2 separate regions of the Homo sapiens genome follow, and region 2 is linked to region 1. Evidence: promoter capture Hi-C in 16 types of primary human blood cells and fetal thymus (Javierre and others, 2016). All regions are on one chromosome and are shown on one strand. The core of a region is centred on a gene start or on the middle of the fragment in contact, and the rest is flanking DNA. Distances in the headings are between cores, read along the strand shown. Region 1 holds the start of CCER1 (coiled-coil glutamate rich protein 1). Region 2 has its middle 24 kb from the start of POC1B-GALNT4.

What was found. The method cuts DNA at HindIII sites, captures the fragments that hold promoters and counts their contacts. A CHiCAGO score of 5 or more calls a contact.
Region 2: a contact is called between a fragment that was not itself captured here and the fragment with the promoter of CCER1 in region 1, in 13 of 17 cell types (naive CD8 T cells, monocytes, total CD8 T cells and 10 more). The highest score is 13.2, in naive CD8 T cells.

The regions. Positions count from the first base shown.
Region 1 is chr12:90,953,344-90,956,551 of GRCh38, reverse strand. It overlaps CCER1 (coiled-coil glutamate rich protein 1), which reads left to right and starts at 1,376. Exons shown (of 1, transcript NM_152638.4): 1 at 1,376-3,208. The coding sequence starts at 1,810. The coding sequence ends at 3,030. RefSeq lists an enhancer at 2,368-2,467. The HindIII fragment of the contact is 2,103 bases long and covers 1,119-3,208 here.
Region 2 is chr12:89,549,195-89,552,051 of GRCh38, reverse strand. No RefSeq gene overlaps it. Among named protein-coding and RNA genes, the nearest start is that of POC1B-GALNT4, 24 kb to the right of the region's middle. The HindIII fragment of the contact is 484 bases long and covers 1,071-1,554 here.

The sequences.
Region 1 (3,208 bases), core at 127-2,626:
GGGTGGGGATGCCTATTTTTGCATCAAGAACAAGTGCCTTTACATATACTATATCATCTCTTTTAGAAGTCATGAAGTATTTACAAATAAGGATGATAGTTAACAGTTACTGAGTACTTACAGGGTACCTGCACTAAGTACTTGAAGGAATTACAGTAAGTCCTCACTTAGCATCATAGGTTCTTGGAAACTGCTACTTTTAAATGAGAAGACATATAATGAAACGTGGTTTTGTTATTGTTGTTGTTTTGCCTCAGCAACGTTATAAGGAAATGACATTGAGCAAAACATTAATATTAGAGGACCTGTTATATGCATTTAATTCTTTACACAACCGTATGGAAAAGGTAGTATAATCATGGTATGGGTAAGGAAACTGAGGCTTACAGAGATTAATAATTGGTGAGTTGAAGTTGAATCCCATTTATTTAAATTAAAACCCATATGCTTAACCACAATGCTTTAAAGGCTTCCCGTGTATATGCTGTATGGTCAGTGAAGGGACAAAAGGAAAGACAATCAGAATATTCCTCTTCCCAAGGACAAACCTGTGGTATTCATTATGGTAATAATAATATTTGTTTAATTGAGGTACACATGTACGGTATATTACCAATAGCAAAGTACCTTCCCAAATGTTATGTCATTTAGTTATCACAAGGGTCCTACTGGGGGTTTGGTAGAACACATAGCAATGTCATTAGGAACCTAACTTTTGGGTCAAACAGGTTTAGGCTTAAATCGTAGCCTGGAAATTTATTAGCCCCACAACCATGGGGAAATTAAGCTCTCAGTTCCCTCATCTGTGACAGGTGATAAGATACGCCTACCTCTCAGGGTAGATGACAGGATTATTTGTCAGTGAGCACATGCAATAATAAATGTTCGTGGTCTTGTTTTATGTATTATGAATCCCAATTCTCAGGAGTAAGAAGAGTTGGCACCGGCCAGAAGGTAAGAGGTTGGGCAAAGTTTCCTTTCTCCAGTAATTTTCCATGATCCCTTAGGCCCTCCAAAGGTGTAGAATGTGGGGTTTTCAAAACTCAAGTTCTCCCGCCCCCACCGGGTTCAGATGAAGGCCCATCTTCTAAACCCCCGCCTCAAGGTGATACAAAGCTTTCGGATAAACTGCCTCCAGACTTGCTTGAATTGAGCAGCAGAAACCCAGCCTGGACCCCTCTTCACCTCCCCCAAACGCTGCGTCACAAGCCCCCTGCGAATGTTCACCTGGAGCCTGGTTCCGGACAGAACCCGGCCTTGCACACAGGGAGGACGATTTCGACCCCAATTGGCTGTTGCCCTGGGTGACCAAGAACGCAGTGGGCACGCGGGAGACCACAGCCAGTATTTAAAGGCTGCCGCTGCCCTCGCCACCACAGTCCTGCCAGGACGGCGACAGTGAAGCACCTGGGTTGAGAGGGAGCAGCAGGTAACTGCGCAACCCCTGCCTCCCCCGGCCCCAGCCCGTGCCTCAGCAGAGCCGGGTGTGGTGGGGACCCGGGAGTGGGTCTCACTGCGTGTCGCCTGCCAACACCTTCCTCCCCCACCATCCTTACCCAGCCCCAGTCCCACCCAGCACACCTGGGCGAGACAACCCAGGTGCGAAGGACAAGCGATTACTACCGAAGAGCGTGCAAACCAGGAAGAGAGCAGCCTCCTGGAGAGGAAAACGTGATCCCAGGGGTAGACACGTGGCGCTGCGTGGAGAGACAGGTTGACGAGACGAGGCTCTTCTGACCGTCCTACCTGGCAAAACTTGACGACAGCTTCAGGTCGCTACCATCTGGACCTCTCGGAGCTCCCTGAACCATGACTCAGACCCTCGACACAAGGGAAGACCCTCTGAACCTGGGCGGCGGTGGCGGCGGCGGCTGTGGCTGTGGCTGGGCACACTCGGCCTCCTTGAGCTCCTGGTCGTCCTGCCATCGAAGGCGCCCGGGTGCTCCAGCGTACAATAGACCGCACCGATATAGCCCCAAGACCGAGTATGGGCCCCCAAGGAAGCAGCCGAAGCAACAGCACGGCCCGGGCTTTTGGTTCCAACCACCCGTGTGCTCTAACTGGGGGTGCTGGGGAGGGCCCTGGCGCCCACCCCCTCCAGGATTCTGGAAATTCCCCTGCCCGGTGCAAGTGTTTCGGGTGTATGGCCTGCACCCTCTCTGCTTTTGCTGCTGCTCCTGCTGGAGCGGGTCCTGGAACCCTGGCTGGGTGAAGCCCCCAGGCAGGAAGAAGCGCTGGGGCCGCAGAGGCCGCGGCCTGCGCCACCACCCTCGCCACTCCTACCCGCGGAGCCCGCCAGCGGATGTGAGCACGCTGCCGCGGCCGGTCAAGCTGTATGAGTGGAGAGAGCCTGGCATGCGAGCGCCGCCCAACACCACCCAATTCATCATGAACCAGATCTACGAGGACATGAGGCAGCAGGAGAAGGTGGAGCGTCAGCAGGAGGCGCTGCGGGCGCAGAAGGCCACGGTGAGCGGCGAGGCCTCCCCAGCCAGATCCTCCGGAAACGACGCGCCCCCTGGCGGCAGCAAGGAAACCTGGGGACTGCAGGAAACTCTGTATGGCTTTGTGCAGAATCCCTCTCTAGCATTCAGTCCCAACCCAGAGGAAAACCAGTCTCTTGCCCCGCTGCTGGTGGAAGAAGAGGAGGAGAAGAAAAATGATGATGAGGAGGAGTATGACCAGGAGGTGTGTGATGCAAAGGAGGCGAGCGAGGAGGAAGAAGAGGTCGAAGATGAGGAGGAAGAGGTCGAAGATGAGGAGGAAGAAGAGGTCGAAGAGGCTGAATATGTGGAGGAGGGAGAGGAGGAGCTGGAAGAGGAGGAGCTGGAAGAGGAAGAGGAGGTCCTGGAGGAGAACGAGCAGAGAGGGGAAGAATTTCACTTGCCTCTGGAAATGCCTTTATCAATCTTCGTAGAGGCTGAAGAAAAGAGAGAGAACTTTATAAGCTGCACTTTTTTAAACCCAGAGCAGATAATTCCCAAAGTGCCACAGGAATCCCTGTTCATGGCACAGGACTTTAACTGTTAGACATCAGAAAAGGGATTGAGAAAAGGGATGGAACTGATTTGAGGCTAAACTGGATTAGCAATTTATTAAAAACTGATTAAAAAGTGAGTTCCATTAATAAACAGATCTATGTAAACACCTTCTTTGGCCATTATAAAATGTTTAAAATTTGATGCGTATGTGTATGACTATGGGTGGG
Region 2 (2,857 bases), core at 63-2,562, 1.4 Mb after region 1:
CATCTCAGATCAAGTGATGAGGGAACATGGAGGTAGAAAAAGCCACAGGAGTTTGCCGCACCCTCTCTGGGCCACAGCTCCTCCAACTGGAGAGGCATGTTCCTCTTTCTCAGTTGTGACTCCCATGTGCTCCTGTTATTGCTACCACTGCAGTAATTAGTAGGGGCTAACATAAATAAAAGACTGGGGAAAAGGGGAAAAAATTAAAATAATTGTTTTCATCTCCTAGTGCTAGGCATTCCTTTCCCACTCTACGAGCCATAATTGGAGGATCCCACCTGAGCTCTCTCTGTGTCTTAGTATCTATGTTGGGTTTCAGGCAGTCTTGTGTTCATTTCAAAGGAAACTGGAGGGGAAAAGATGACACACTCACCATTTTGGTCTTCATCTCCAATCTGCCTGCTATTATTTACTTTTCAGAGTCCTCAGATGCTCCACTTATTCTGCCCAGGTTTTTTAGCCGCATTCAGTGGGAGGAACAGGGTGGTGTGAGTACACTTACTCCGTTGTACCTGGAATCAGAACCCCTCCAATATTTTTTTGAAAACTCCTCTAAGAGGCAAGAAAATAATAAAGTTTCTTATTCTAAATTTCCTGCCTAACTGCATGTTTAGACCTATTAATGCTAGGAAGAGGAAAAATGTAAGTGTGGGTGGATGAGGTGGGACTATCATGTAGTCATGTGAAACATTTTAAAGCCAAAAAAAGGAAAGAACGTCTTTTAAGCTTTACTTTTACAGGCTTCTGTTTTAGCCAGTACCATCTGTGGGAAAGGAAATAAGAATTGAAAGGCAAAAATTAAAATAAGTCTTGGAATCAGTAAAGGACTAAAGAAAGTTTTACTGGGCAAGTTAGTATGGATTCAGGAAAGAAGGAAATACACTATACTTACTGAGGTTTTTTTGTACCATCTCCAAGCCAGAGCTTGCCAGGAATTTCCCTTTTTCCATTCACCCTGCTCATAAGCCCACCACAAAGAGCAAGACTTGGGTTTGCCTAAGCCTACGCTTGAGACAGAAATAAAACTTTTACCTCCTAACAGAGGACTGAGCTGTGAGACTCTGAAAGCTTTTCTTATTGCTTACCTTCTTATTTTTTTTCCTTTAATAGCCTTAGGTATTCTTAATTTCCTTATCTTTTGGTCACACAAATACCTAGTTTTGGTTCTTATAACTCCATGTAGTCCATGGAGTTAGGTCACAATAGAGATCAACCTCTACACAATGCGCCACTGTGTTAGCTGGTTTCATTCTGAATCAGTTAATTCTGGTGTGCGTGTGTGTGTGTGTGTACTTTGGGAAATTGTAAAAGTCAGAGTTTAATCAAGGATATAAGATCCTGAATTAGGAGTCTCCCGATAAGCTAGTTTTTCTCCAAAGCCTTTCCTACAAGTGTCTTTAAAATAAGCTCCCATCCTGTTACTGGTGTAGTCAGAAACACCATTTCCTCCAATCTTCAAGGGCTAGGGGTGAGAAAAGGATTGCTGGGTACAATTTATAAGACACAATTACAAGTTATTCATCCCAGATGAGAAACTAAATTTACTTTGAAGCTTACATTGTTTGCCCAGAGATGACTCTCATGGAAAACACCATGGAACCTCTGCTAAAATGAGTGTTGTTCTTCACCCAAAGCACTGTCTCTCCTCTCGGGAGCCTGGCAGGAAATAGAATTATGGGAAGTAAACTGCTATCAGCCTAACAGTCTAACCTAGAGCAACCGGATTGCAGGCTTTTGTGGGTTTGGGATCACGTGTTCTTCACTTTTACTTATGCTGAATAATAATCTTTCCACATGGTGGGAAATCCATATAATTTTTAACTGGTCCAGTGGTATCTGGAACAGATCTGAGAGAGTGGATTCATTCATAAACCAACATTTATCAAGTTTCCTGCTAGTGGCGAGGCTTTGTTCTAGATCTACATATTGCGGATGGAAGAAGAACAAAATAAATCCCTGTCTCAGGGAGACTGCCTTTTAGTGGGAGAATCAGAGGATAACCAACCAACCAAATAAATATAATACCATGGCAGGCAGTAGTAAGTGGTATAAAGAGAAAGATAAGTGGAAGAGACTAGTGTAGGCTGAGGCCAAACAATGATCACTAGTGATCAACAGTAGTCGTAGGCTTCTCTGAAGAGGTGAATTTAAACTGAAACTTCAGTAAAGAGAGACAATGAGCTATTCAAAGGAGTAGATGATCCAGACTAAGAGAACAGCAAGTCCAAAGGCTCTGAGGCAGAAGGATAGATGTTCAAGGAAAAAAAAAAAAAACAACAGATAGAATTGATTAGGAAGGAAACACAGATGATTTGCATGGAGCAGCCTGCTGGCTTCCAGTTTAGTTTCAGGTTGGATCACCTTGATATATCTGGTCCTCAATATTCCTGGAGAGCCCAAAAGGGAAAGGCCCTAAATGTGTCTCATATATCAGGTCTCTCTAATAAAGGCTCAAGTCTCAAGAGATTTTGGCTTATTCCCAGAGCCCTGAAATAATTCATTCAACAACTTGTAATAATTAGGAAGCTCTTACCATGTGCCAGGTACTGTGCAATTAATCATTATCATGGCTTGGCATAGAAACTGGAAAAATATCCTTGGACTTATTTTCCTGGGAAGTAATTATTACAGTGGCAAGTGGTGTTAAGTCAACTAGTCCTGTTGCAGACTTGAAATACTCTGGGATGGAACTGGCTGTTCTTTCTTTCTATATTATTGGGTGCTTCTCTGGTAGTGCTCCAGGCCTTAGTCTTTGGTTCTTGTCTCTATTATGTACTCTCTTCTGTGTTATATTATCTAGTCTTATAAATATAATCTCTATGGCTATTAATGTGAAATTTACATTTGTATTCATACA